Linked DNA regions of Homo sapiens: regions 1, 2, 3 and 5 are each linked to region 4. Evidence: promoter capture Hi-C in human tissues and cell types (Jung and others, 2019). All regions are on one chromosome and are shown on one strand. Each heading gives the region's core, a stretch centred on a gene start or on the middle of the fragment in contact. The rest is flanking DNA. Distances are from core to core; before and after follow the strand shown. Region 1 has its middle 36 kb from the start of NFIC. Region 2 holds the start of TLE2 (TLE family member 2, transcriptional corepressor). Region 3 holds the start of PLIN5 (perilipin 5). Region 4 holds the start of ATCAY (ATCAY kinesin light chain interacting caytaxin). Region 5 overlaps CELF5 (CUGBP Elav-like family member 5).

What was found. The method cuts DNA at HindIII sites, captures the fragments that hold promoters and counts their contacts. A contact is called where the count stands out against the background at its distance.
Region 1: a contact is called between a fragment that was not itself captured here and the fragment with the promoter of ATCAY in region 4, in 2 of the 25 tissues and cell types used here (bladder and heart left ventricle).
Region 2: a contact is called between the fragment with the promoter of TLE2 here and the fragment with the promoter of ATCAY in region 4, in 2 of the 25 tissues and cell types used here (aorta and small bowel).
Region 3: the fragment with the promoter of PLIN5 here is called in contact with the fragment with the promoter of ATCAY in region 4 in 1 of the 25 tissues and cell types used here (small bowel).
Region 5: a contact is called between a fragment that was not itself captured here and the fragment with the promoter of ATCAY in region 4, in 1 of the 25 tissues and cell types used here (psoas muscle).

The regions. Positions count from the first base shown.
Region 1 is chr19:3,327,469-3,333,446 of GRCh38, forward strand. No RefSeq gene overlaps it. Among named protein-coding and RNA genes, the nearest start is that of NFIC, 36 kb to the right of the region's middle. The HindIII fragment of the contact is 6,741 bases long and covers 487-5,978 here.
Region 2 is chr19:3,026,472-3,031,763 of GRCh38, forward strand. It overlaps TLE2 (TLE family member 2, transcriptional corepressor), which reads right to left and starts at 2,809. Exons shown (of 20, transcript NM_003260.5): 1 at 2,410-2,809; 2 at 2,235-2,332; 3 at 1,848-1,911; 4 at 1,358-1,402. The coding sequence starts at 2,433. The HindIII fragment of the contact is 30,131 bases long and covers 1-5,292 here.
Region 3 is chr19:4,533,974-4,539,705 of GRCh38, forward strand. PLIN5 (perilipin 5) reads right to left here and starts at 1,251. Exons shown (of 8, transcript NM_001013706.3): 1 at 1,192-1,251; 2 at 42-122. The coding sequence starts at 101. It overlaps LRG1 (leucine rich alpha-2-glycoprotein 1), which reads right to left. Exons shown (of 2, transcript NM_052972.3): 2 at 2,429-4,978. The coding sequence ends at 3,967. RefSeq lists an enhancer at 402-957. The HindIII fragment of the contact is 58,476 bases long and covers 1-5,732 here.
Region 4 is chr19:3,876,782-3,882,270 of GRCh38, forward strand. It overlaps ATCAY (ATCAY kinesin light chain interacting caytaxin), which reads left to right and starts at 3,904. Exons shown (of 13, transcript NM_033064.5): 1 at 3,904-4,227. RefSeq lists silencers at 170-464, 227-427 and an enhancer at 3,579-4,109. The HindIII fragment of the contact is 15,458 bases long and covers 1-5,489 here.
Region 5 is chr19:3,274,024-3,279,405 of GRCh38, forward strand. CELF5 (CUGBP Elav-like family member 5) reads left to right here. Exons shown (of 13, transcript NM_021938.4): 4 at 1,833-1,961; 5 at 4,008-4,087. Among named protein-coding and RNA genes, the nearest start is that of CELF5, 52 kb to the left of the region's middle. RefSeq lists silencers at 1,620-1,749, 1,980-2,279. The HindIII fragment of the contact is 8,579 bases long and covers 1-5,382 here.

The DNA of each region.
Region 1 (5,978 bases), core at 2,607-5,106, 550 kb before region 4:
CTCAGCCTCTGGAGTAGGTGGGATTACAGGTGCCTGCCACCACGCCCGGCTAATTTTTTTTGTTTGTTTTTGTTTTTTTTTTTAGACGGAGTCTCCCTCTGTCGCCCAGGCTGGAGTGCAGTGGCACGATCTCGGCTCACTGCAAGCTCCGCCTCCTGGGTTCACGCCATTCTCCTGCCTCAGCCTCCCGAGTAGCTGGGACCACAGGCGCCCGCCACCACGCCCAGCTAATTTTTTGTATATTTAGTAGAGACGGGGTTTCACCGTGTTAGCCAGGATGGTCTCGATCTCCTGACCTCGTGATCCGCATGCCTCGGCCTCCCAAAGTGCTGGGATTACAGGTGTGAGCCACCGCGCCCGGCCTAGATACAGGATTTTGCCATGTTGTCCAGGCTGGTCTCAAACTCCTGACCTCAAGTGATCCCCCAGCCTCAGCCTCCCAAAGTGCTGGCATTACAGGTATGAGCTACCGTGCCCATATTAACTGTTTTTTGTTTTTTGTTTTTTGTTTTTAAGATGGAGTCTGGCTCTGTCACCCAGGCTGGAGTATGGTGGTGCAATCTCGGCTCACTGAAACTTCCGTCTCCCAGGTTCAAGCAATTCTTGTGCCTCAGCCTCCCAAGTAGCTGGGACTACATGCGCACACCACCATGCCTGGCTAATTTTTATATTTTTTAGTACAGATGGGGTTTCACCATGTTTCCCAGGCTGTTCTCGAACTCCTGACCTCAAGTGATCCACCCGCCTTGGCTTCCCAAAGTGCTGGGATTACAGGTGTGAGCCACCACACCCGGCCCTGTATTAACTTTTGATAGATATTCAACCTACAAATAGGAAAGTATATCTAGTATAAAGGTACAGCTCAAAAATTGTCCCAAACCAAACACATTTATGATTTGTGTAATCAGGTCCCTGAACTCATCAAGAAAAATAATATTTCTGCTTCCCCCACCACCCACAAAGTCACCCTGATCCTCCCCCTTGGTCTCTAACTTTCCCATGGTTAAGCACTGGCCCGATTTCTGTCTTCATAAATTAGTACAGGGCACAGTGGCTGACATCTGTAACCCCAGCACTTTCGGAGGCTGAAGCAGAAGGATCACTTGAGGCCAGGAGTTAAAGATCCGCCTGGGCAACACAGTGAGACCCAAAACGTGAACATATGTTTATCTCAAACATAAATAACAAAGTAAATTAATCAATCAGTACTGCCCACTGTGAACTACATTACACTAAATCCCATAATGACAGGCTTTTTGTCCTCAACGTAAAGCTTGTAAGATTCATCTGTGTTGTTAAATGTTTTTGTAGGTTGAATATCAGCAAATTTTTTCTTGTAAAAGGCCGTATCGTAAATATTTTAGGCTTTGTGGACCAGGCAGTCCCCATTGCAGCTACTCACCTCTGTCCCTGTAGTCAATAGGCAGCCACAGACAATATGTAAGTGAGTGGGTGTGGGTGTGTATACCAATAAAACTTTATTTATAAAAATAAGTGATGGGCTGTGTGTTAGTCAGGGTTCTCAAACAGAACCAATGGGGAGTGTTTGTGTGTGTGAGAGACAGAGAGACAGAGAGAGAGTGATTTTAAGGAATTGTGGAGTGCAGTGGCTCACGCCTATAATCCCAGCACTTTGGGAGGCTGGGGCAGGAGGATCTCTTGAGCCCAAGAGTTTGAGACCACCCTGGGCAGCATGGTATCCTCATCTCTAAAAACAAACAAACAAACAAATTAATAAATAAATAAAATACATTTGCCAGGTGTGGTGGTACACACCTGTAGTCCCAGCTAGTTGGGAAGCTGAGGCAGAGTTGAACCCAGGAACTCAAGGCTGCAGTGAGCTGTGATCACACCACTGCACTCAAGCCTGGGTGACAGCACAAGATCCCGTCTAAAAAAAAAAAAAGAAAGAAAAGAAAAGAAAAAGAAAAAAAATTGATTTGCTTGATATGGGGGCTAGCCAGTCTAAAATTTATAGAACAGGGCAGCAGGCTAGACATTCAGGTAAGAGTCAATGTTGCAGGCCGGGCGCGGTGGCCCACGCCTGTAATCCCAGCACTTTGGGAGGCCAAGGCGGGCAGATCACGAGGTCAGGAGTTCAAGACCAGCCTGGTCAACATGGCGAAACCCTGTCTCTACTAAAAATACAAAAATTAACCGGGCAGCCAAGGCACAAGAATTGTTTGAAACCCAGGAGGCAGAGGTTGCAGTGAGCCGAGATTGCACCACTGAACTCCACCTTGGGCAACAGAATGAGTCCCCGTCTCCAAAAAAAAAAGAAAACCAAAAACAAAAACAAAAAAAAAAACAGAAATAGAGTCAGTGTTGCAGTGTTGGGTCCAAAAACTGTAGGGCAGTCCCCACAGTCTGGAAACGAGGACTTTTTTTTTTTCTTTTTTTTTTTTTATGGAGTCTCGCTGTGTTACCCAGCCTGGAGTGCAGTGGCGCGATCTCTGCTCACTGCAAGCTCCACCTCCCGGGTTCAAGCGATTCTCCAGCTTAGCCTCCCGAGTAGCTGGGACTACAGGCACACGCCGCCACGCCCGGCTAATTTTTTTGTATTTCAGGAAAGACGGGGTTTCACTGTGTTGCCCAGGCTGGTCTCGAACTCCTGAGCTCAGGCAATCATCTGCCTCGGCTTCCCAAAGTGCTGGGATTACAGGCATGAGCCACCGTGCCTGAAGAAATGAGGATTTTTATGTCCCAGTCTTGAGGCAGAATTCCTTCTTCTCTGGGAAAACCCGAATTTTGCTCTTACATCCTTCAACTGATTGGACGAGGCCCACTCACATTACAGAGGGTCGTTTCCTTCACTTAAAGGCAGCTGACTCTAGACATTCAGCACATCTGCAGAATACCTTCAGAGCAAAACATGCAGATGCCTGTTGGAGCAAACAACCGGGCAGCATGGTCTCGCCCCATGGCCCCATGCAATCAAACATCACAGTCTGGATTTGATCCGGGGCCATGGTTTGACAGCTCCAGTGTTGTTCACGTGTTCCTGGGCTTAGGATGGGACCATGTCCTGATAAACTCTTCATAAGTTAAAAATATCATAAGTCGGCCGGGTGCGGTGGCTCATGCCTGTAATCTCAGCACTCTGGGAGGCTTAGACGGGTGGATCACCTGAGCTCAGGAGTTCGAGACCATCCCAATCAACATGGTGAAACCCTGCCTCTACTAAAATACAAAAAATTAGCCGGGCGTGGTGGTGTGTGCCTATAGTCCCAGCTACTCAGGAGGCTGAAGTGGGAGAATCACTTGAACCTGGGAGGCAGAGGTTACAGTGAGCCGAGATTGTGCCACTGCACTCCAGCCCAGGTGACAGAGCGAGACTCCATCTCAAAAAAATAAAATCATAACTCAAAAATGCATTTAAGCTGGGTGCAGTGGCTCATACCTATATTCCCAGCATTTTGGGAAGCTGAGGTGGGAGGATCACTTGAGGCCAGGAGTTCAAGAGCAACCTGAATAACATCATAAAACCCCATCTTGGCCGGGCACAGTGGCTCATGTCTGTAATTGCAGCACTTTGGGAGGCCAAGGCAGGTGAATCACCTGAGGTCAGGAGTTTGAGACCAGCCTGGCCAACATGATGAAACCCCGACTCTACTAAAAATACAAAAATTAGCCAGGTGTGGTGGTGCACACCTGTTATCCTGGCTACTCAGGAGGCTGAAGCAGGAGAATCACTTGAACCCCAGAGGCAGAAGCTGCAGTGAGCCAGGATCACCCTGCTGCACTCCAGCCTGGGCAACTGAGTGAGACTCTATCTTTAAAAAAAAGAAAAAGAAAAAAACGTATGTTGGAATCATCTGTCTTCGTTTCCTGGGCCTTCCTTAACAAAGTAGCACAGCTTGAGTGGCTCAAACAACAGAAATGTATTTCCTGACGGTTCTGGGGGCTGGAAGTTCAAATTCAAGGTGTTGGCAGGGTTGATTCCTCCTGAGGGCTGGCAGGGAGAGTCTGTCCCACCCTTCTCTGTCCTTGACCTGTAAGATGACGCCTTCATGTACACGTGACGGTGTCCCTAAGTGCATGTCTGTGTCCAAATTTTCCCCCTTTTTATAAGGACACCAATCAGTTTGGATTAGGATCTGGACTAATGGCCTCATTTTTTTTCTTTTTTTTTTAGACGGGGTCTCGCTCTGTCACCCAGGCTGGAGTGCAGTGGCGTGATCTCGGCTCACTACAAGCTCTGCCTCCCGGGTTCACACCATTCTCCTGCCTCAGCCTCCCGAGTAGCTGGGACTACAGGCGCCCGCCTCCATGCCCGGCTAATTTTTTGTATTTTTAGTAGAGACGGGGTTTCACCGTGTTAGCCAGGATGGTCTCGATCTCCTGACCTCGTGATCCACCCGCCTCGGCCGCCCAAAGTGCTGGGATTACAGGCGTGAGCCATCGTGCCTGGCCTCTAATGGCCTCATTTTATTTTGATTACCTCTGTAAAGACCCTGCATCCTAATAAAGTCACCTTCTGAGGTCCTGGGGTTAGAACTTCAACATATGAATTTGGGGGGCAGCACAATTCAATGCATAATCACCCTGTTGTCCATGTAGGTTTTCTTTTTTTTCATTCCTGTTTCCACCCATTCTAGTGTGGATGTTCATTTCAATTAGTTCCAGTTCTGGGCTCTTACAAATAAAACCGATATGAACATTTCCATGCATGTCTTTCAGTATATACATGTGCCCTTCCTTCCTTCCTTCCCTCCTTCCTTCTTTCCTTCCCGTCCTTCCTTCTTTCCTTCTTTCCTTCCTTGCTTCCTACCTTCTTTCCTTCCTTCCTTCCCTCCTTCTTTCCTTCCTTGCTTCCTTCCTCCTTTCCTTCCTTCCTTCTTTCCTTCCTTCCTTCCCTCCTTCCTTCCTTCCTTTTTTCCTTCCTTGCTTCCTTCCTCCTTTCCTTCCTTCCTTCTTTCCTTCCTTCCTTCCCTCCTTCCTTCCCTTCCTTCCCTCCTTCCTTCCTTTCCTTCCTTCCCTCCCTCCTTCCTTCCCTCCTTCCTTCCTTTCCTTCCTTCCTTCCCTCCTTCCTTCCTTCCCTCCTTCCTTCCTTCCCTCCGTCCCTCCTTCCTTCCTTCCCTCCTTCCTTCCTTCCCTCCCTCCTTCCTTCCCTCCTTCCTTCCCTCCTTCCTTCCCTCCTTCCTTCCTTCCCTCCATCCTTCCTTCCCTACTTCCTTCCTTTCCTTCCTTCCTTCCCTCCTTCCTTCCTTCCCTCCGTCCCTCCTTCCTTCCTTCCCTCCTTCCTTCCTTCCCTCCTTCCTTCCCTTCCTTCCCTCCTTCCTTCCTTCCCTCCGTCCCTCCTTCCTTCCTTCCCTCCTTCCTTCCTTCCCTCCTTCCTTCCCTTCCTTCCCTTCCTTCCTTCCTTTCTTCTTTCCTTCCTTTCCTTCCTTCCTTCTTTCGTTCCTTCCTTCTTTTCTTCCTTCCTTTCCTTCCTTCCTTCCTTCCTTCCATCTGTCCTTTCTTCCTCCCTTCCTCCCTTCTTCCCTCCCTCCCTCCCTCCTTCCTTCCTTCTTTCCTTCCTTTTTTCTTTTTAATCAGATGGAGTCTTGGTCTGTCTCCACCCTGGAGTGCAATGGCACAATCTCAGCTCGCTGCAACCTCCGCCTCCCGGATTTAAGCCATTCTCCTGCCTCAACCTCCCAAGTAGCTGGGACTACAGGCACATGCCCAGCTAATTTTTGTATTTTTAATAGAGATGGTGTTTCACCTTGTTGGCCAGGCTGGTCTGGAACGCTGGACCTCAAGTGATCCTCCCACCTTGGCCTGCCAAAGTGCTGGGATTACAGGTGTGAACCATCATGCCAGCTGGCTTGCTTTCTTTTCTTTCTCTTTCTCTTTCTTTCTTTTTTCTTTTTCTTTCTTTCTCTTTTTTTCTCTCCTTCTCTCCCTTTCTTCCCTCCCTCTCTCCTTCCTTCCTTCCTCCCTTCCTTCCTTCTCTCTCTCTGTCTCTTTCTTCTTTTTGAAATAGGGTCTTGCTC
Region 2 (5,292 bases), core at 1,559-4,058, 850 kb before region 4:
AAAAAAAATCTTTAGGTCTATCTCAGAACCTTGAGATCAGAAGTTCGGGAATAGCCTCAGAACCTTTTAACACATCTCAGCACATAGATATGATAATCGCAGAACCCTGAGGTCTATCTCTGAACCCTGAGGTCAATCTCAGAACCCTGAGGTCTATCTCTGAACCCTGTCTATCTCAGAACCCTGAGGTCTATCTCTGAACCCTGATGTCTATCTCAGAACCCTGAGGTCTATCTCTGAACCTTGAGATCACAAGTTCAGGAACACCTCAGAACCTTTTAACACATCTCAGTACACAGATAGGACAATCTCAGAACCCTGAGGTTTATCTCTGACCCTTGAGGTCTATCTCTGAACCCTGAGGTCTATCTCAGAACCTTGAGGTCTATCTCAGAACTCTGAGGTCTATCTCTGACCCTTGAGGTCTATCTCTGAACCCTGAGGTCTATCTCAGGACCTTGAGGTCTATCTCAGAACCCTGAGGTCAATTTCAGAAATTTGAGGTCTATCTCAGAACCCTGAGGTCAATCTCAGAGCCCTGAGGTCTATCTCAGAACCTTGAGGTCTATCTCAGAAAACTGAGGTCAATCTCAGAACCGTGAGGTCTATCTCAGAACACTGAGGTCAATCTCAGAACCCTGAGGTCTATCTCTGAACCTTGAGGTCAATCTCAGAACCCTGAGGTCTATTTCAGAACCCTGAAGTCTGTCTCAGAACCTTGGATCACACTGAGAAGCTCCAGAAGAGGCTCAGAGCCTTACGACACTGGAGTCAATCTCAAAGCCCTGAAGACAGCCACAGAGTTTTGAGGTCTATTTTGGAGTAGTGGGGTCACAGTCTGAACCATGGCATCAAATTCAGGGCCTGGAGAACAATCTTGGAACCTTCCAGCCAATCACACTGAGACCAATCTCAGAAGCTTCAAAGCAGCAACAGAACCTGGGGTCCATCTCAAAACTTCAGACTTTCTGGGTTGAAAGGGACCTCTAAGAGTGGCCATCCAGCTCCCTCCTAGGACAGAAGTCACTTCCACAGCCTCCCTGGCCTGGCTGCCCTGCCTCTGCTATGTGCCCTCCTTGATGGGGATGCCTGGTGGCCCCTGCCCACTGCCTGCATCTCTGCTGGACGCTCCAACTGCTAGATACTGTCTTCAGAAGGTGGGACTCATTTTCCTTCCACGAGGCTGAAATCTGTCTTCCTGGTCCCAGATGGGCCCTCTGTGACCTCTGCGGAGATTTCAGGATGAGACCCGTGTTCCCTAGGTCTGCTCTGGCCCCGGCTGCCCACTCTGGGTCCTTCTCAGGGCTTCCAGACCCCCACCCTCCCTCCTGAACACGCGTAACCCCAACCCAGTTACCTGCTTATGCATTTCAATGTTGAGCCCGTACGACATCTCATAATACTGCAAAGGAAAAACCAAGTAAGAACGTCTAGGGTGGAGATGGGTGCCCTCCTCCAGATAGGTGATGCCAGGGTCTTCCAAGAGTCCCCAGGTTCAGGGGAATCACAGCAGGAAGCAGAGCCCCCCCCAGCTCCACGGGGTCCCAGAGGAGGAAGCGGGGGCTCTGCCTGGAAGGGCCCCCTCTACTCTCCCCAGAGAGGCAGGGCAGGTAGGAAGTGTCCAGAGGCCCTGGCCCGACAGAGACTCCCATCAGGCGAGGGGTCCTCCCTGTCTCCCCATTCCCAGAGCTGGGAGGACCCTCCTAGAGAGCCTGAAATCCCAACCTGCCCAATGTACAGACGGGGAAGACGAGGTTCGGAGTGGGGCAGGGACCTACCCCAGAGTCCACCGTGACTCAAAGCCCTGCCCGCCTCTCCCCTCACCCTGGCATCATAAGTGCCCTCACCATGACATAATGTCGCTGCATTTCCGTCTTCTCGCTGGCCAGCTTCTCACATTCTAGCTTGAGGCTGAGAAGAAGAGAGAGGGCAAGGGGCTCCCACCCGCCCCATGTGGGCCGGCTTCCAAAGTGAGAGGCTGGATCTCCCCCTCCCGACTTCCTTACAGACCTCCCCCCACCTCCTGTCCCAGTCCCTCCCCGCCCCTTCCTGGGCTCCAAATGCCCCAGCTCTGACTGTCCCCAGACCCCTCTGCACCTGCGCTTCCACCTGGAGGCCTTTGTCGCGCCCCCCCTCCAACCGGGAGCCCCTCCTCCCCGCCCTATACCCCGGAGGCCTCGCCCCGCCCCGGCGCCCAGGTGAACTCCCGCGGCCCCTGGGGCGGCCCCCCTCACCTGTGGTATTGAGCCTGAAGAAACTGGAATTCTTCTTTGATGCGGTCGCAGATCTCCAAGATCGAGAACTTGAAGGGCTGGCCGGACTGGAGCGGGGTCTGGGGGGGGTGTGGGGGAAACGTCAGGGTCTGAGTTCCCGGACACTGGGGGCCCCCTCCCCGCAGTCCGCACTCACCGGGTGCCTTCCCTGGGGGTACATCCTGCCGATCCGAAAAGCCCCCCAGGCGCCACCAGAGCTTGATGATATGGAGGCGGCAAGAGTGGGGGAGGCTGAAGTGGGGTGGTGGGGAGGCTGCCCGAAGAAAGAGGGAGGAGGGAGAAGCGGCGCGGGGCAAGGGACCCTGGAGTCCCTGGCGCGCCCCCAAGCGCGCGCGCCCGGGGTCGTGGGAGCCCCTCCCCGGGTTGGGGTGCGCGGGGCGAGCGGGGCGGGCAGGGGCAGCGGCCGGGGCGGGAGCGCGGCGAGGGCGGCCGCGGCAGCCGGCGCAGAAGGTCGGGCGCGCCGCGGCCGGGTTTCGGTGGCGGCGGCGCGGGCGGCGGGCCCCGCGCGGAGCCGCCTCCCTCCGGCGGGGCTCGGCCGGGAGCCGCGGGCTGAGCCGCCTTAAGGTGGCGCCGCCGCCCCCACGCGCCCGCGGCCCGCCCCGCGCCCACCCCCGCGCACCGCCCCTCCCCGCGCCCGCGCCCCCCCCGGCCCCCGGGCACCCGCCCCCTTCCTTCAGTCCCTGGGCCGTTGGGGAAACTGAGGCCGGGTGGGGAGGCGCCCAGTGCCTTAAAACAGGGTCCCCACCCCCTCCCGGAGGGGCGGGAGAAGAAAAACCAGTGAAGAAATTCACACCGTGTTACCCACCGTGGGAGCGGGGGGGGGGGCTTGCGGGGAGCGGGGACCAGTCTGGAGTCGGAAATGGCTTTTCTGAGCAAGTGACATTGGGTTGAGATTGAAGGGTCAGCAGGACGCAGCCTTGCCAAGCGCTGGCAGGGAACCCTGCCAGAAAGGGAATCTCACAGCAAACACTGCTTCCCAGATCATGCCGGGCCCTCGCCCTCTGGGGGCCTCAGTAGTCTCTGCAAAAGGTCAGGGGTGGTGCGCTATCTTTAGGGTTTAATTTTTTGCAGAGATAGGGTCTCCCTGTGTTGCCCAGGCTGGAGTACAGTGGGGCAATCATGGCTCACTGCAGCCTCGAACTCCTGGGCTCAAGCGATCCTTCCCCCTCAGCTTCTCCAGTAGCTGGGACTACAGGTGTGCACCACCACGCCCAGCTAATTTTTTAATTTTTTGCAGAGATGGAGTAGGGGGGCGTCTCACTATGTTGCCCAGGCTGGTCTTGAACTCCTGGACTCAAGCCTCTCTCTTCGGCCTTCCAAAGTGCTGGGATTACGGGCGGGAGCCACCGCACTGGGCACTGCACTTAAATGAGATAGTGCATGAACGCTGTCAGCCTCTCCCTACACAGAGCAAACTTCCACAGATGGGAATTGTGTTCCTACTGCCATCACCAGTGGACTGGGCTGTCTCCCCTCTCAGACTGGGTTTCTTGAAGGCAGGAGCCGTGTCCCACTCAGAACTGGAAGAACCACAGCTCTGCCATCAGACTCAAGTCTCTCCCACGGCAAAGGCTCCAGCCCCGACCAGAGACCACAGACATCCAGCCAGCATCCTTCAGGCCCACCCGGGGAGTGGGAAGTTCTTATTCTCTTTGGAGAAACCTCAGGAGAGGTTTGTGAAGTCAATCAACAAACGTGTACTAAATGCATACTGTGGACCACACACTGCTGTAGACACTGGGGCACAGCTGGGAACAAAACAGAGAAAAATCCATGCCCCTTGATGACACTTGGACTTGTGTCCTTAGGTGATCGAGTACCTAATGGTACCTAAGGGTTAGGGTTACAAAAACCCATTTTGTACCCTTACAAAAGGGCACAAGAGCCCTTATCAATGGGCCAGGGGTGGTGGGTCATGCCTGTAGCTCCAGCACTTTGGGAAGCTGAGGAGGGAGGATCGCTTGAGCCCAGGAGTTCAAGACCAGTGTGGACAACACCGCGACAATACAAAAAAACATTTTTGTGTTTTTTGTATCTCTACAAAAAATACAAAAATAATTAGCCAGGCATGGTGATGCACACCTGTGGTCCCGGCTACTTGGGGGGCTGAGGCGGGAGATACCTGAGCCCCAGAAGGTCAAGGCTGCACTGAGTTGAGATCACATCACTGCACTCCAGCCTGGGTGACAGAGCAGGACCTTGTCTCAAAAAAAAAAAAAAAAAGCCCTTATCAAATTTAAAGCCATCGTTTTCCAGCCCACAGATATTTACAGAGCACCTATGACGTGTCAGGCATCCTTCCAGGCACAGGGATTGTAAGGGTGGATAAGGGAGACAGATCCCTGCCCTCTCTGAGTTTGTGGGATGTGAGTGACAGGCTAGGCAGGTTCACAGCTTGGTAATTATGGGACTATTTGTACAGACAGAGGAAGAGTTTAGAGGGCAGTGATAGAGATGAACAAAAGCAAACCTGCTTATGTGGGGTGTCTGGGAGAGGACCCTTGGGGGAGGGTAGCCTTGGAGATGAGACCTGAACGATGAGGTTGGGCAGCTCTGGGAAGGGAGGAAAAGAGACACAGCCTGGGATAAAGATACAATTGTGTGTGTGTGTGTGTGTGTGTGTGTGTGTGTGTGTGTGTGTGTAGTACTCACTAGCTCCCTATTGCCCTCAAAATAAATCCAAACTCATCTCTCTTCCCACAAGGCTCTTCACAAAACTCTTCCCCTTTTCCCCTTCACCATCTCTTTATGTTTTGTTTATTGTTTATAGAGACAAGGTCTCACTGTGTTGCCCAGGCTGGTCTTGCATTCCTGGGCTCAATCGATCCTCCCACCTCGGCCTCCCAAAGCACTGAGATTACAGGCATGAGCCACTGCACCCGGCCAGCCAGCTTCATGATCTCAACTCCGGTCATTTTCGCCCTCACTCACTCTGCCCAAGTCACACTGGCCTCACACCAGGCACAGTCCAGCCTCAGGGCCATTGCACTTTCTGTTCCCTGTACCTGGAATGCTTTTC
Region 3 (5,732 bases), core at 1-2,500, 650 kb after region 4:
AATACCTTCTGTCCCTGCTCCATGGGAGGGGCAGCCCTCACCTGCTGGTCCTGCTCCCACACACTGGATCTGGGGATCTGAGCCGCCTCTTCTTCAGACATCGTGCTGCAAACAGGGTCACCCTGCGGGGCAGGATTGAGTAAGGGGAGCACCTGCCCAGGCATCAGATCCTGTCAAATTGGGCTCTGTGACTTGAGCAACTCTCAAACCTCTTGGGGCCTCAGTTTCTTCATCTGCATAATGGGGCATTCTGTGGAGCTCAGACAATGCATGTCCAGAGCTCTGTACACAGAGGGTGTCCAATAATGAGCCTCTGGCAAGGTAGGGTTGCCGGAGTGACTCGAAGCATGGTCTCTGAGGTGAGAAAGACCTGGGTTCAAATGCTACCATTAATTGCGGTGTTATTTTTATTATTTTTTTAAAGACAGAATCTCTCTCGCCCAGGCTGGAGAGCAGTGGCGCCATCCCAGCTCACTGCAATTTCCGCCTCCCAGGTTCAAGTGATTCTCCTGCTTCAGCCTCCCAGTTAGCTGGGATTACCCACGTGCCACCATGCTCGGCTAATTTTTGTATTTTTAGTAGAAACCGGGTTTCGCCATGTTGCCCAGGCTGGTCTCAAACTCCTGGGCTCAAGTGATCTGCCCACCTCGGCCTCCCAAAGTGCTGGGATTACAGGCATGAGACACTGCACCTGGCCAGCTGTGTGATTTTTGGCAAGCACCTTCACCTCTCTGGGCTGCTTCCTGTTTTGTAAGATGTGGGAGGTCCCTGCTACCCCTGCGGCCCCTGCCTGGGCCCAGAACTGCCCAAGCACCCTAGACGGCTGGAGGTGGTAGCTGCTGGGTCCCAGTCCACTCACAGCTCATTTGACAGACAGGGCAACTGAGGTACGCAGCAGGTCCATGCTGGTCCCAAGGTCACGCAGCCAGCTAGAGTTACAGGGGGGGAGCTCGACCTCGGGCCTCAGACCTGCCGCCTGCGATCCCTCCGGTTGCCACCCCGCGTCCTCTGAGGCCTGGTCCTCGCCCAACTGGGTCCTGAGCTGGGGCCAACCGGGCCAAGGGTCCCAGCCACCTGCTCTGGCCGGTCATACCCGTCCCACGCCGCCGGACCTTCGCCCAACCACCCTATCTGGAGCTCCTCTCCTAAGCCCGGGGGGGCGCTCCCGGACGCCGCCCTCAGGGCACTCACCTGGGCGCGAGCGGCTTCAGACACCAGCTGTCTCCGCCGACCCCAGGCTCGAGTCTCCACACCCCCGCCGGTCCCGCCCGCCCTTCTTATAGCTGCTCGCGCAGTGGGGGCCTCCGGAACTGACCAATGGGGAGAGGCCGTGCGGGGGCGTGCCCAGGGGGCGTGGCTCCAGGCTTCCCTCGCCCTCTCCTTGAGCTGGCCCAGTGCCCTACGGTTGCCATAGTAATTCGGGAGCGCTAGATTCAAAAGATTGAGCTATTATACGTTCCCGGACCAAGTTTGGCCACCTGTCATCCTCACTGCTGTTGCCATAGAGACAGTCCATGCGATCACAGCCCCCATAGCCCTGCTGAGTGACCTTGGCCAACTCGCTGATGACTTTTCTTATTAATTATTATTATTTATCGATTTTTGAGACTGGGTCTTGCTCGGTTGCCCAGGGCTAGAGTGCAGTGGTGTGATCATAGCTCACTGCAGCCTTGCCCTCCCAGGCTGAGGTGATCCTCCCGCCTCAGTCTCCTAAGTAGCTGGGACCACAGGCACACACCACCACCCCCAGCTAACTTTTTAAACTTTTTGTAGAGACGAGATGTCCCTGTGTTGACCAGGCTTGTCTTCAACCCCTGAGCCCCAAGTGATCCTTCCACCTCAGCCTTCCAAATTGCTGGGATTACAGGTGTGAGCCATTGCACCCAGCCTCTTTTTATTTCTTAATCTGCCCCTTAACTAAGCCAGAAGCCAGGCCTTCCCTTTCCCTAGGATCCCCATTTCACAGATGAGCAAGCTGAGGCTCAGAGATCATAAAACACTTGCCCCGCATACCACAGCAAGTGAGGGATCCTATTCCTTTTTTTTCTTTTTTTTTTTTTGAGACAGAGTCTGACTCTGTCGCCCAGGCTGGAGTGCAGTGGCGCGATCTTGACACACTGCAACCTCCGCCCCCTGGGTTCAAGTGATTCTCCTGCCTCGGCCTCCGGAGTAGCTGGGATTACAGGCGCCTGCCACCACACCTAGCTAATTTTTGTATTTTTAGTAGAGACGGGGTGTCACCATATTCGTCAGGCTGGTCTTGGACTCCTGACCTCGTGATTTGCCTGCCTTGGCCTCCCAAAGTACTAGGATTACAGGCATGAGCCACCGTGCCCGGCCAGGGATCCTATTCAAACCCAGCCCTGCTGGACCTCAGAACCCTGCCTTTTCATTGCCTTGCCTGGAATGACCACAGATGTAGGCATGGTCTTTTTATTTTTATTTTTATTTTTGAGACACAGTTTCACTCTGTCGCCCAGCCTGGAGTGCAGTGGCGTGATCTTGGCTCACTGCAACCTCCGCCTCCCAGGTTCAAGTGATTCTCCTGCCTGACCCTCCCAAGTAGCTGGTATTACAGGCACGTGCCACTGTGCCTGGCTAATTTTTGTATTTTTAGTAGAGACAGGGTTTTGCCATGTTGGCCAGTCTGGTCTCGAACTCCTGACCTCCGGTGATCTGCCTGCCTCAGCCTCCCAAAGTGTTTGGATTACAGGCATGAGCCACGGCGCCAGGCTGCATGGTCATTTTTTAGGGAGCTGGGAAAACTGGACATGCCCCCAAGCCCCAGGGTCTTCCAAATCCGATTGCAGCCCCCACATGGCCAATGCTGTATCAGCAGGTGGGCCCGGGACCCTGCTCATCCCTTCAGCCCCATCCTGCCCCTGCAACCTTGCCCGGGGGCAGGTGCCCCCTTCGATGATCTCAGGTCAGCATGACAAATCGTTTGGAGACCTGGGCAATCTGGTTTAACTTAAACCTTCTCCTAGGACACAAGCCCTGGCAGAAATCCACTGGTAAAATGACACCCGGGCAACAGTCAAGGTTTTATTTCCAGTTAGGTCCCAGGATGGGGGAAGGGAGAGGAGAAGTCACAGGCCATTGATCCCAACTGTCATCCCCTAGGGAGACCATATCCCACACCCCAGGGCCTGGGCCATGCCTCTTTTCCTCCTTCACCCTGGAGTCCTGGGAAGTTGATTTGAGAAGATGCTAGGAACACAATGAAAGCCAATTCATCCGATCCAGTTTTCAAGGGTTATTTATTAAACCCCTTGGTTCTGACCCCAAGCTAAGTGGGACTCAGCATCAGACCCTGCACTCAGAGAGCCCCCTGACTTGGGGAAGACAGAGTCAGAGAAAGGCAGCCCCAGTGTGGCCAGGGCTCAGCTGGAAGGAAGGACAAGGGGCTGGGAGAACCCAGAGTTCAAGAGATCTGGGAAACAGGGAACGGCATTCCAGACGGAGGGCACACCTTGGGCATGGGTAAGGAAAGCCCATCGTGTGTTCTAGGAAGCATGGATGGATGAAACGGGGTCCCAGCCGCTATGGACAGCCCCGAGTTTCACCTGTAAAAGGCAGGATTATTTGTTTTTAATTTTAATTTTAATTTTTTTGAGACAGTCTTGCTCTGTCGCCCAGGCTAGAGTGCAGTGGCACGATCTTGGCTCACCGCAAGCTCCGCCTCCCAAGTTCACGCCATTCTCCTGCCTCAGCCTCCCGAGTTGCTGGGACTACAGGTGCCCACCACCACGCCTGGCTAATTTTTTATATTTTTAGTAGAGACAGGGTTTCACCATGTTAGCCAAGATGGTCTCGATCTCCTGACCTCGTGATCCGCCCACCTGGGCCTCCCAAAGTGCTGGGATTACAGGCGTGAGCCCCCGCACCCGGCCAAAGGCAGGATTATTTGTTAAGCGGGTTGCAGTGTTCTACCAGACCCCCCACCCTCAACCCAAGCCCCTGGTCTCACTGGGACTTGGCCACTGCCAGGAGCGTCTGGCCCTTCACGGCTTCAGGCCCAGCACAGCGCGTGTCATTCTGGGAAAACATCTTGTCTTTTTGGGCCTGAAGCCAACGATAGAGGTCGCTCAGGTTCTGGTCACAGATCCAGGGGTTGCCGGAGATGTCGAAGCCATCCCGCATGTCCCAGTTTGGCTGCCCTAGGGATGCCCAGAGCCCCTCGGGCACGCTGGCCAGTGAGTTATTGGAGAGGTCCAGCATGTCCAGCTGCCGCAGGCCCTGGAAGGCACCGGCTGCCACCCTGGCCAGCTTGTTGCCGTTCAGGAAGAGGTAGCGCAGGTCCGGCTGCGGCAAGAGGAGATCTTTTCCCAGTACTTGCAATTTGTTGCCTTCTAGATGTAGCCGTTCTAATTGCAGCGGACCCCTCAGGAGGTCAGGTGGCAAGGTCTCCAACTGGTTCTCCCCAAGGTCAAGGGTGCGCAGGAGGGTGAAGTTGGCCAGCAGCCCGGGGGGCAGTTTCCGGAGGCGGTTCCCAGACAGGTCCAGATGCCCCAGAGCTTTCAGGCCGTGTAGCCACGAGACCTCCAGGACCTCCAGCTGGTTTTCTTTCAATACCAGGGTGTCCAGGGTGGCTGAGGCCTGGAAGAGGCCCGGGGGCAGCCCGGTCAGGGCGTTTCGGGTTAGATCCAGCACCCTCAGCTGCGGCACTGGCCGCAGGAATTCGGGCGAGAGGCTTTCCAGCCCATTGCTGGAGAGGTGCAATTCTTGGAGCTTAGAGGCGCCCTGGAGGAGGTTGGCTGGCAGGTGGGTCAGGTTGAAGAATTCCACGGCCAGGTGCACGGTGTCGGCTGGCAGGTAGCCGGGGATTTCGGCAGGTGGTTGACAGGAGATGGAGCTGCCATGGTCTGAGCGGAACACCTGGCAGTCTTTGGGGCTCAGGGTGACCCCCCAGGCTGAGGCTGCCAACAGCAGCAGCAGGAACAGAGTTCTAGAAACATGGGGTTGAATGCCCCCTGGGCTGCAGGCAGTAACAGAAGATGCTTACTAAACCACAGTGAAAATACACTCAGCTAGGTGAAAATACACCAGCAAATCCGCCCACTTCTTCCCATCTCTGCGGCTACCAGCCTGGACTATGCTACCTCATCTCTCACCTGTACTAGGGCAGTTGCTTCCTCCTCCTCTTCCAGCTTCTACCCTCACCCCCGACAGCTGCCAGAAGTGGCCCCTGTTCCAGGGAGAATTATAATTCTAGGAAAGTTGAGTTTCTGAGTGTAACTCCCGCATAATATGAATACACTTCCCCATCACCAGCCTAGCCCCCATGAGCTGTTAATTATTCACAGTCCAACTTGCTAGTTTCTTCTGATCTGGCTTATTTTCTGGGTCAGTCCTTGTCTCCCTGGCTCTGTGTTTTGATGTGAACTCCTATTCATCCTTCAAAGCCCCAGCTCCAATGCCCTCTTTTCCATGAAGACTTCTCTGCTCTGGGATCCTGGTCTTTTTGTCCACTCTTGACCAATTGGGTGCTTGGAGGAAGACAGACGTTCAGGTTCATGTTTTTGAGACAGAGTCTTGCTCAGTTGCCCAGGCTGGAGGGAACTGGCATGATCACAGCTCACTGCAGCCTCTGAACATGAAAAGTGTGTCCTGCTTTGGCCAGGTCTGAGGGTGGGCATTTGGCCTTGGGAAGCGGTGGTTTACACTTAGCACCACAACCCTTGGAAGCCTGGGGCTTCCCCTCCTCCTCCAGGGCTTCCCTGGCCCGGCAG
Region 4 (5,489 bases), core at 2,654-5,153:
CCTGTGATCACAGCACTTTGGGAGGCCAAGGTAAGCGGATCACCTGAGGTCAGGAGTTTGAGACCAGCCTGGCCAACATGGTGAAACCCCGTCTCTACTAAAAATACAAAAATTAGCCTGGCGTGGTGGTGGGTGCCTGTAATCCCAGCTACTCGGGAGGCTGAGGCAGAAAAATCGCCTGAACCTGGGAGGTAGAGGTTGCAGTGAGCCGAGATCGCACCAGCCTGGGTGACAGAGCAAGCCTCTGTCTCAAAGGGAAAAAAAAACAGGGAACCAAGCTTAGGTCACACGCTGTGGCTCCTCGGTGGTGGCTGTAGCACCATGGACAGCTCCCAGGCTTTGGTGGACTGGGGAGAAGCTGTTGCTCTTTAAATGCCAGTCTGGGCAGGCCTGTCTGTCCAGAATATGCCTTCCTCCCTCTTTTTTATTCATCTAACTCCACTCACTCCTCAGGGGTCTCACTCATGCAGTCGCCACCTCTGTGCCCCACCAGGAAACCTCCCCAACGGTCCCCCAACCTGCACCACTCCAAAGATGTCTCTAGATCAGCCCAGACTCTGTTGTCCACCTGTTTCTCTCAACTGAATGGGAATTATTTATTTTTTTTTTTTTTGAGATGGAGTCTCACTCTGTCACCCCACCTGGAATGCAGTGGCTCAATCTGGGCTCACTGCAACCTCCACCTCCCGGGTTCAAGCGATTCTCCTGCCTCAGTCTCCCGAGTAGCTGGAATTACAGGCGCCCACCGCCACGTCTGACCAATTTTTGTATTTTTAGTAGAGGCGGGGTTTCACCATGTTGTCCAGGCTGGTCTCAAACCCCCAACCTCAAGTTATCTGCCCGCCTCAGCCTCCCAAAGTGCTGAGATTACAGGTGTGAGCGGCCTCCCAAAGTGCTGGGATTACATGCCTGGCCTCAACTGAATGGTCATTCTAAGAGAATTCCCAATCCTGCACACAAAAACAGCATAAATTAACTGAATTAGGGAAGCCACGCCTCTGCCAGCCGTGAGCTGGGAAGAAGCAGATACCTCAGAGGCAGGGAGCGCAGGCGGGTGATGATGAGAGGGGCCACAGCCGCAGCCCCACGCAGGGGAGCCCACCACTAACCCTGCACCCCCACCCCTGCACAAAAGAGCTGGTGGGCACTAGCCATATCGCCTTGCAACCTTCCTCGGATGCAGAATCCACTCCTTCAGGCATCCTCTTCCTCCAATGCTCTGAAGGCCTGGGGAGCCTGAGAGATGCCCGCTGCACCCAGGCAGGGCTCGCCTTTGTTTGCCAGTAATGGGAATTACTCATATCTTGTGCCCAGTGCCCAGCACAGGGACTCATCGAATCCACCCCTCAGTTAACACAAGTGTCTCTTACAAGACCTCCATTTTCTCCAGCCAGGAGATGGGAAGTCCCAACCTTGTGCTAAAGTCTCTGGGGCCTCTGCTTCCCCATCAGGGCTTTCTGCCTCTGCTGTGGGCAGGTTACCTTTATGCCTCGGAAGAGTGCAGACCTCCATGCAGCGGGTGAGGCTGCCAGCCTAGGTGGGGTGTCATTGAATGTCATGAAGGGAGCCAGCCTTCATGCACTCTGCCTGCGTCTCCTGAACAGCTTTGGACCAGGAGTTGCTACCTTGTGCGGAGAACGTGTGGTGCATAAGAACAACCGAGCCTCTGCTCTTCGAAAATGTATATTCTGGCCAGGTGCGGTGGCTCACGCCTGTAATCCCAACACTTTGGGAGGCCAAGGTGGGCAGGTTGCCTGAGGTCAGGAGTTTAAGACCAGCCTGGCCAACATGGTGAAACCCCGTTTCTACCAAAAATAAAAAAAATAGCTGGGTGTGGTGGTGCATGCCTGTAGTCCCAGATGCTTGGGAGGCTGAGGCATGAGAATCGCTTGAACCTGAGAGGAGGAGGAGGTTGCGGTGAGCTGAGATCACACCACTGCACTCCAGCCTGGGAAACAGAGCAAGTCTCTGTCTCAAAACAAAACAAAACAAAACAAAACCCAGTATATTCTAATAAGGAGGAGCAGAGAATCAACAACAACAACAAAAAAGTGTAAATAATTTCAATTAATAGTAAGTGCTGTGGGTCAGGCACGGTGGCTCACACCTATAATCCCAACATTTTTCGAGGCTGAGATGAGAGGCTCACTTGAGCCCAAGAATTCAAGACCAGCCTGGGCAATAGAGAGATACCCTATTTCTACAAAAATTACACAGATTAGCAGGGCGTGGTGGTAGGAGCCTGTAGTCTCAACCACTGGAGAGAAAGAGGTGTAAGGATCACCTGAGCCCGGGAGTTCAAGACTGCAGCGAGCTGTGATTGTGCCATTGCACTCCAGCCTGGATGACAGGGAAAACTCCTGTTTCTTAAAAAAATAAGTAAATAAAATAAACATTAAAAACAGCAATAGCAAGAAATACATATAGGCCGAGCACAGTGATTCGCACCTCTAATCCCAGCACTTTGGGAGGCCAAGGTGGGCGGATCACCTGAAGTCAGGAGTTCGAGACCAGCCTGGCCAACATGTTGAAACCCCGCCTCTACTAAAAATACAAAAAAAAAATTAGCCAGGTGTGGTGGTGTGTGCCTGTAATCCCAGCTACTTGGGAGGCTGAGGGAGGAGAACCACTTGAACCTGGGAGTCGGAGGTTGCAGTGAGCCAAGATCGCACCACTGTACTCCAGCCTGGCAACAGAGCGAGACTCCACCTAAAAAAAAAAAAAAAAGAAAGAAAGAAAGAAAGAAAGAAAGAAAGAAAGAAAGAAAGAAAGAAAGAAAGAAAGAGAAAGAAACACATAGGGAGCTTTTCTTGTGCCCCAGCACTGTGTTTAGTGCTGTCTATGCATTATCTCATAATGTGGAAAAGCCATAGCGGCTCCATTTCACAGATGAGAAAAACTGAGGCCCGCAGGTGAGATCACTCATGCCCACTGGTCTGCCAGCTGGGGAGTGGCTGGGCTAGAGTTCAAACCCACTTCCAGTCCGACTGCACGGCCTGCACTCTCCACCCTACCATCTTCCACAGTCTCCTTGAATTCCTCCAGGGCGAGGCCACGCCAGCGCACAACTGCAGGGGGCGCCGTTCCCACAGCAGCCCTGCAAAGTGAGTGTGCCTGAGAAACTTCCGCCTCCCCTGCACCCAGCCCTGTTTAGGGCACGAGGCTGAATCAATGGTAAGTGACCATCTAATGGACCCACAACACGGTGACCTGGGGACAGTCATTTCTTTCTTTTTTTTTTTTTTTCTTTGAGACAGAGTCTCCCTCTGCCGCCCAGGCTGCAGTGCAGTGGCGCCATCTCGGCTCACTGCAACCTCCGCCTCCCAGGTTCAAGCGATTCTCCTGCCTCAGCCTCCCGAGTAGCTGGGATTACAGGCGCACGCCACCACGCCTGGCTAATTTTTGTATTTTCAGTAGAAACGGGGTTTCACCATGTTGGCCAGGCTGGTATCGAACTCCTGACTTCAGGTGATCCTCCCTCCTCGGCCTCCGAAAGTGCTGGGATTACAGGCGTGAGCCATGGCATCCGACCTGGGGACAGTCATTTCTTTGCCTGCACAGACTTTTTGGGGGATGCCACCCCTCACCCCTGCTCCCTTTGCAAGGAGAAGTGCCAAGAAGACCTTTCCCAACTCCCCCACCCCCCATTCTCTAAGGAATGAGGCCATCTTGCCATTTATTTATTTATTTGTCCGTTGTTTTGTTTTTAAATCTCTGATGCGCCATCAGAAAATTATTTCTGCCTCTGCCCCTGGCGTGGCTTTCGGAGATGCTTGTCTGTCAGCCAATGGGGAGGATCGGATTCTGGCAGGGGGCTGTGCTTTTCCGTCAGGCCGCCACCCCCCACCCCCTCCTCCCTGCACACAAAAGCAGCATAAATTAACCGTCTTCGGGAAGCCGAGCCTCTGCCAGCCCTGAGCTGGGAAGAAGCAGCTACCTCGGAGGCAGGGCGCGCAGGCGGGCGGCGATGAGAGGGGGCGCAGCCGCAGCCCCGCGCTGGGGAGCCCACCGCTAACCCTGCACCCCACCCACCCCTGCACAAAAGAGCTGGCGGGCGCTGGCCACGTCGCCCTGGGTGACCTTCCTCGGATGCAGAATCCGCCCCTGCGAGCATCCTCTTCCTCCTAGGCTCTGAAGGCCCGGGGAGCGTGAGCGATGCCCAGCTGCACCCGGGCAGGGCTCGCCTTTGTTTGCCAGTAAGGAGGAGAGGCTGTCTCAGCTGCAGAGGTGAGTGCGCGCATCTCCCCTTCTCCCAGGATAAACCGTCTCCCTGGAAGGTTTATCCGGCAGCCTTTGCCGCCTCTAAATCCCTTTCCAGCAGATGGGGCGGGTGGGAGCAGAGAGCCACGGTCTTGTGACTCCGTGAAGGCCCTCACATCCCTGTTCCCGGTACCAGGGAAAACCGTTCCCTGAGCTGCGCCCAGCAACACAGTTTACCTTCCGCGCGCACCGTTCCCCTCTAAGTGCACCATTTTCAGGACACGCTGAGAGCTCGGGCGGATGAAAACCTCAGCTTCTCTCTGGGACGCTGAAATAGACCCATCCTAGCCCTATGTATTTCCTATTTATAACGCTAGGAAGGCCACCAGCCGACGATTTCGGGAAAAAAAAAAAAAAAAAATCTAAGTGTGTCGATAAAGGCTGTCCTGTGGGGTGGGGAGGAAGGGGGTGGTTTATGGTTTAAGACACAGATGCCTCCTCCTTATTGGAACTCGTATGTGATTTGTTAATAATCAGACATCAGGGCTCAAATGAGCGCTTCACTCCCGTTCCTTGATGTCACTGTCTTCTTTTGGCCGTCCCCAAATGCGAAGCCAGGATCTGAGTGCAGGAGTGTCCGGGGCCCACTGAGGACCCACCCCACCCCATCCTTAGAAGACTGTGGAGTCAACGCCTGTGGCTGCAGCTGGCAGGGGGTGGGGGTCGGGGGCGGGGCTGGTGGGAGTGTTCCTGGGGGCTGAGGTCACACCCAGCTCAGTATAAGGAAGGGAGAGGCGAAGACCCCTTCCTCCGGAGAGCAAATGCGTTTCTACTGCCGAGGAGAACTTACCCTCGCGGGAAGGGCCTGGCTGGCTGCTGCCACCGCCCCCCCCCCGACCCCATAGCATCCAGGAGGGATTTTTTTTTTTTCCATGCTGCGTGTTACTGTCCCTCCTCCAAGCATGAATGACGACATTGAGGACAGAGAATCGAGTGAGAAACGCTCACCCTGTACGGGGGAGGGTCTAGTTTTAGCCGTCCCCTCCCCCCACTTCCTCATCTGGCTGAGGCTGCCTCTGGGTCCTTCCTTGCTAAGCCACAGTCCCCTGTCCCCGATGCAAACCCGATATCTATGCTGGGGGGCTGCAGGTAACCTACTCCACAGAGAGGCAGCCTGGATGCCATGAGAGTTGGGGGCCTTAGATGCTTCATGTATTTGGTTTTTTTGAGACAGGGTCTTGCTATCTTGCCCGGGCTGGTCTTAACCTCCTGTGCTCAGGCGATCCTCG
Region 5 (5,382 bases), core at 1,638-4,137, 600 kb before region 4:
GAGGCCTGTGGATCTGGAACTGGCCTCCCTGCCCCAAAGCATGCAGTAGTCGCATGCCTGCTCACACACCTTTTGGTGGGGGGAGAAGCAGGTTCCAGAGAGCAGAAGGGGCTATGTCCATAGGCCCCAAGGGAGGATGGGGGGTCTAGCCAGGTCCAGCTGCCTTCTCCTGAGTTTGAAATACTCCACTCCCTTCAGGGTGCAATAACTGGGGGGCTTCAGACACAGACAATGGGGGCCTGAAGGGCTGTGGATTGCTCTCTGGGGTCTCCGTGTGGAAATGTGTGTGTTTATGTGTGCATGCTTAAATGTGTGTGTATATGACTGTGCACACCTGGCATGCCTGTGTGCAGATGTGTGTGAGTACGTGCACATGTGCATTTGTGTTTCTGCAGCTGGTGCACATAAGCGCACATGTGTGGTATGCAGTGGGGATGCCTTCCTGCCTGTGTGCATGTGCGTGTGCCCAGCCCGCGCATGGGTGTGTGTGTTTGCACATGTGTGCCTGACTGTTGGAGGCTGGGCATGTGGGCAGACATGCAGGCTGGGGCCAGTGTTGTCTGTGTGGGGCTGGACCTTGGTGTCAGGGTGTGCCCATGGTGGGGGCATACTCAGCTGTTCCCATGGGACCCAAATCTAGTCATTCTTGGAAATTTGTATATTTCCTCTCCATCTCAAGTGGAGACTGAAGGAGGGCAGCCAGATTTGGTTGAGTGGAGGCATGGAGCAGGAGTGTTAGGATACCTAGGTATATGTAGGAGTCCGGTAAAGGCCCTCTGGGATGGGAGCCCCTTTCACACTCTCCACCCTGGCTGCCAGCGTGGGACAGGGAGTAGCGAGGTGGGGTCTGTATGTCTCCATTTTTGTCTCTATTTCTCTGTCTCTCTCTCCATCTCCCTCTGTATCTCCTTCTCCTTTTTCTCTTCTCTTGTCTCTTCATCCCTCTTATTCTCTCTGTCTCTCACAGTCTCTTTCGCGCGCACTCTCTCTCTGATCTGTCTCTCTCTCTCCCTGATTCTCAGTCTCTCTGCTGGTTTCTCTCTCTCCCTCCCACCCCCATGAGTGACAGCTGCCGAGAGCGGTTTCCATAGTAACCCAGCTCACCGTCCCTAGGAGATGAAGCCACCACGTTCCCCATTACCAGGGAGCATGCAGTTACCCAAGGGGGCAGAGCTCACACAGGAGAGGCTGGCCCAGCTCCGGCCTCAGACCAGGTTCCAGCCCAGCCCCACCCAGCAGGGGGTCCAGCCTGCCAAGGCCCCTGGTCCACTGAGCACGTGAACCCTCACTCCACTCCACAGATGGTGACTGCCTGGCCCCTCTTGATCCCGACAAAGTTGGGCAGGGGCCTCTGCTGGGCACCGTGAAAGTGCGGGGACCATCAGTGCCCACCTCCGCCTGGCAGGTCCGGGGAGCAGACAGAAAGACAGACAGACAGACAGACAGGGACCCAGGCCCGGCGAGGCAGCTCCTAGCCCTAGTACTCGGTGCGGGCTCTCTGAGTGCACCAGAGGGAAAGGTCATCTCCGCCTGGAGGGGGAGCAGTGGAGCAGAGACCCCAAAAGACTGCAGGGAGGGCATTCCAGGCGGGGGCGCCACCTGGGCAAAGGCCGGGAGATGGGAGCGTGCAGGGCCCGTGGGAGGGTGGAGAGATCCGGGGCAGGGAAAGGGCGCGGCTGGGTCCTCCCTCGCACGCGCAGAACCGGAGCCGGCAGGGCCCGGGCGCCGCGTCTTCCTGCCCTGCCGCCTCCACTCTGCTGGAGGGAGGGAGGAATCCCGGAGGCCCTCCCGGAGGCCGGGGACTCGGCTGAGGTGGGTGTCGCCGCCCACAGGGGACCGGAAGCTGTTCGTGGGGATGCTGAACAAGCAGCAGTCGGAGGAGGACGTGCTGCGGCTGTTCCAGCCCTTCGGGGTCATTGACGAGTGCACCGTGCTCCGGGGGCCTGACGGCAGCAGCAAAGGTGACTGGCGGGGGCCGGGGCGGGACTGCGAGAGGGGCCGGGCTAGCTCTGGGGGCGGGGCCTGTGGGGAGGGTGGGGCCTGCAGCATGGGGAGGAGCTGGCTCTGGGGTGGGACCCTGGGGAGGGGCGGGGCTTCTCCAGGGGTGGAGTCTGTGGGTGAGGCTGCAGGGGCGGGGCCTTGGAGAGGGGCGGAATTGCAGGGGCGGGGCCTGGGGAGGGGATGGGGCTGCAGGGTGGGGAGGAGCTGCCTCTGAGGGCGGGGCCTGTGGGGCAGGGCCCTGGGGAGGGGTGGGGCTTCTCCAAAGGTGGGCCCTTGGGGAGAGGTGTGGCTGCAGGGGTGGGGAGGAGCTGGCTCTGAGGATGTAGCCCTGGAGAGGCCCGAGGCTTCTCCAGAGCTGAAGTCTGTGGGTGAGGCTGCAAGGGTGGGGTCTTGGGTAGGGGAGGTACTGCAGGGAGGGGTGAAATACGTAGAGTTAGGAGGGACTGGCTCCAGGGGGAGAGGCCCTGGGAAGGGTCGGGGCTGAGCATATAGGGGGTGGGGCTGGCCAGGTGGGGCGGGGCCAGGCCAATAGGAGGCTGGGGCTGGCTGGGAGAAGCTGGTTCACAGGGGTTGGGTGGAGCAGAGACTGGTCCCGCTTGATCCTACCTGCATGCTCTCTCTGCATGCTGGCTGTGGGGACGGGCCCTGAAGAGGGGCGGGGCTGCGGTGGGGTGGGCGGAGATGCAGAGGCGTGGCCTTGGGGAAGGGCAAGGCTTCTCCAGGGGCTGCTTATGGATGGGGATGCAGGGGCAGTACCTTGGGATGAGGCGGTGTCTGGTGGGAGGCGGGGGGGCTTCTCCAGGTGCTGCCTGTGAGTAGGGATGCAGGGGCGTGGCTTGTGATGGGGCGGGGTCTGGGGAGGGGCGGGGCTTCTCCACGGACAGAGTTACCTGTGCCCTGTGGTCTCAGATTCCTCCACCTGACTATTCGTAAAACTGTTTCCTCCTGGTTCTGTCTATGTGATTTGTCCATATGACTGACTGGTGGTCTCTGGTTGTGTCTGTCTGTCTATCTTCCTGCCTGAGAGTCCAAATGACGGTGTCTGGCGGTCTCTGTCCACAGAGCTCATCATGTGGGACCGACTCCACTCTGGTCTTTCTTACCTTACTAGAACTGAATGTGTCTGACGGTTTCAGACCATTACCTGGTTCTTCCTTTTTAAAATTGAGGGCTGGGCGTGGTGGCTCACGCCTGTAATCCCAGCACTTTGGGAGGCTGAGGCAGGTGGATCACGAGATCAGGAGTTCAAGACCAGCCTGGCCAAGATGGTGAAACCCGTCTCTACAAAAAATACAAAAATTAGCTGGGCGTGGTGGCAGGCGCCTGTAATCCCAACTACTCGGGAGGTTGAGGAAGAGCATTGCTTGAACCCGGGAGGCAGATGTTGCAGTGAGCCGAGATCACGCCACTGCACTCTAGCCTGGGTGACGGAGCAAGACTCTGACTCAAAAAAAGAAAAAAATTGAGATGTCTTCCACATCCTACCAAATTCACCCTTTAAAAATGTACAATGAAGTGCTTTTTTTTTCTATTCATAAAACCGTGCAACCATCACCACTATGTAATTCCAGAACATTCCACCCCCTCCCTCCACAATATGGCTGGCCCTTCCATAGTACTCTACCAGTCTGGAGCCAGGTGCAGTGGCCTCTGTATGTTCTATGGACTTTGTCGGTGGGACTGTGTTTCCATTCACCTGTGTCTGGTGGTCTCTGTGTGTGTGGCTGTCTGTCTGCATTAGCCTGGCTGGCTGTGTGGGTGACCAGGTCTTTGTCTAACTGTGGCTGTCTGTCTGTGTGATTCTCCTCCATTCTGACCCTTGATCTGGCTGATTGTCCAGCTGTCCGTCTGAGCAAACGGCTGGCTGTCTTTCTGTTATCAGTTCTCTCTGGCTGCATGTGTCTGACACTGGCCATGTAGGTCTCTGTGTCCCCTCTCCTGTGGCCCCCGCTCAGCCAGTCCTGTGACCCCATCACCCTCTACCTCTTCTTCTTCTCTTGGAGCAGGCTGTGCTTTCGTGAAGTTCTCCTCCCACACGGAGGCGCAGGCGGCCATCCACGCCTTGCATGGGAGCCAGACCATGCCGGTGAGTTGGAGCTGCCCTTGGCCGTGGGGGTGGGGGTGGGAAAGGGGTGAGGGGGACAGGGATGAAACAGGCCATATTCCTACCGTCGCTGTCATCCGGTAGCCCCTGGCTGTCCTTCAGAGGGGGCACAGGTGGAGAAAGAGGCGCAGTCCCTGGCTGTGGTCCCTGGAGTGGGTATACACGTGTGAGTGTGTGCAGATGTGGAGGTGAGTAGGCAAGCGAAGTGTATGTGTGTGCATGGATGTATTACAAGTGTGTGCGTGTGGGTGAGTGTGCATGTCTGGGTGTGAGTGTGCCCGAGACTGCATGCATGTGTGTGTGTGAGTGCGTGTTTGAGTGTGTCATTACTAGTAGGCGAGTGTTATGTGAGTGCTGTGTGCACGAGGGGTGTGCGTAAATATGTATGGATAAGTGTGCCATTGTGTGCTAGTGTAGAGATACTAGTGCGTGTGCGTGTATGAGAGTGTACATGTGTGTTTCTATGTGTGTGAGCGTGTGTGTGAGTATGCCTGGGCCACGGGGGAGGAAGCACATGTGTGTGCATCTGCAGGTGCATTTGTGGGCAGGTTTGTGTGTGTGTGTGTGTGTGTTTGTGTGTGTGCATGACTGTGAGTGTGTCAGTATTGTGGGTGATTGTGTACACGTTTGTGAGTATATGCAGGTCTGTGTGAGTATAGGTTGTGAGTGGGTGAGTGTGTATGTGTGTACATGTAAGGGTATCCTAAGGGGATGACACCTGGGTTGGATTTGCTGAGGCCAGGAGAGGCCCTGACAAAAAGAAAGGCTGGGAGGTGGCAACAGGTAGCCCAGAGGAGCCATAGAAGATGGGGCCGCAATGCGAGGCTGAGAAGCCTGGACTTTCTCCTAGGGCAGTGGGGAGCCACAGACGGTTTAGAGCAAGGGAGGAGACAGGCCAGGTCGGTTGCAAATATCCCTTTGGGGCTAATGTAGAGGATGGGCAGGGTGCAAGACTAGAGGCTGGGAGGCCAAAGAGGAGGCTAGGCCAAGGTCCAGCTGAGGTAGGAGGAGGCCTGAGCTGGGGCCAGGTGGACAGGGAGGAGGGCTGATCAGAAAACAGACATTAGGGTGAGAATGGATGGGGGGCCTGTTGACTCACTGGTTGAGGGAGGGGTGGGGATTGGGGACAGGTCCCAGAGTCTGCAGCAGTGAGAGGCTGGGGAGGACCAAGGAGGCACTGGGGACTGCCCTTCCCCCGAGGAAGGAGTCCCCAGAAGCCATTGTTCCTGCACCCACATCTCCGAATCTGCTACAAGGAAGATGGGACCTGAGAGGAA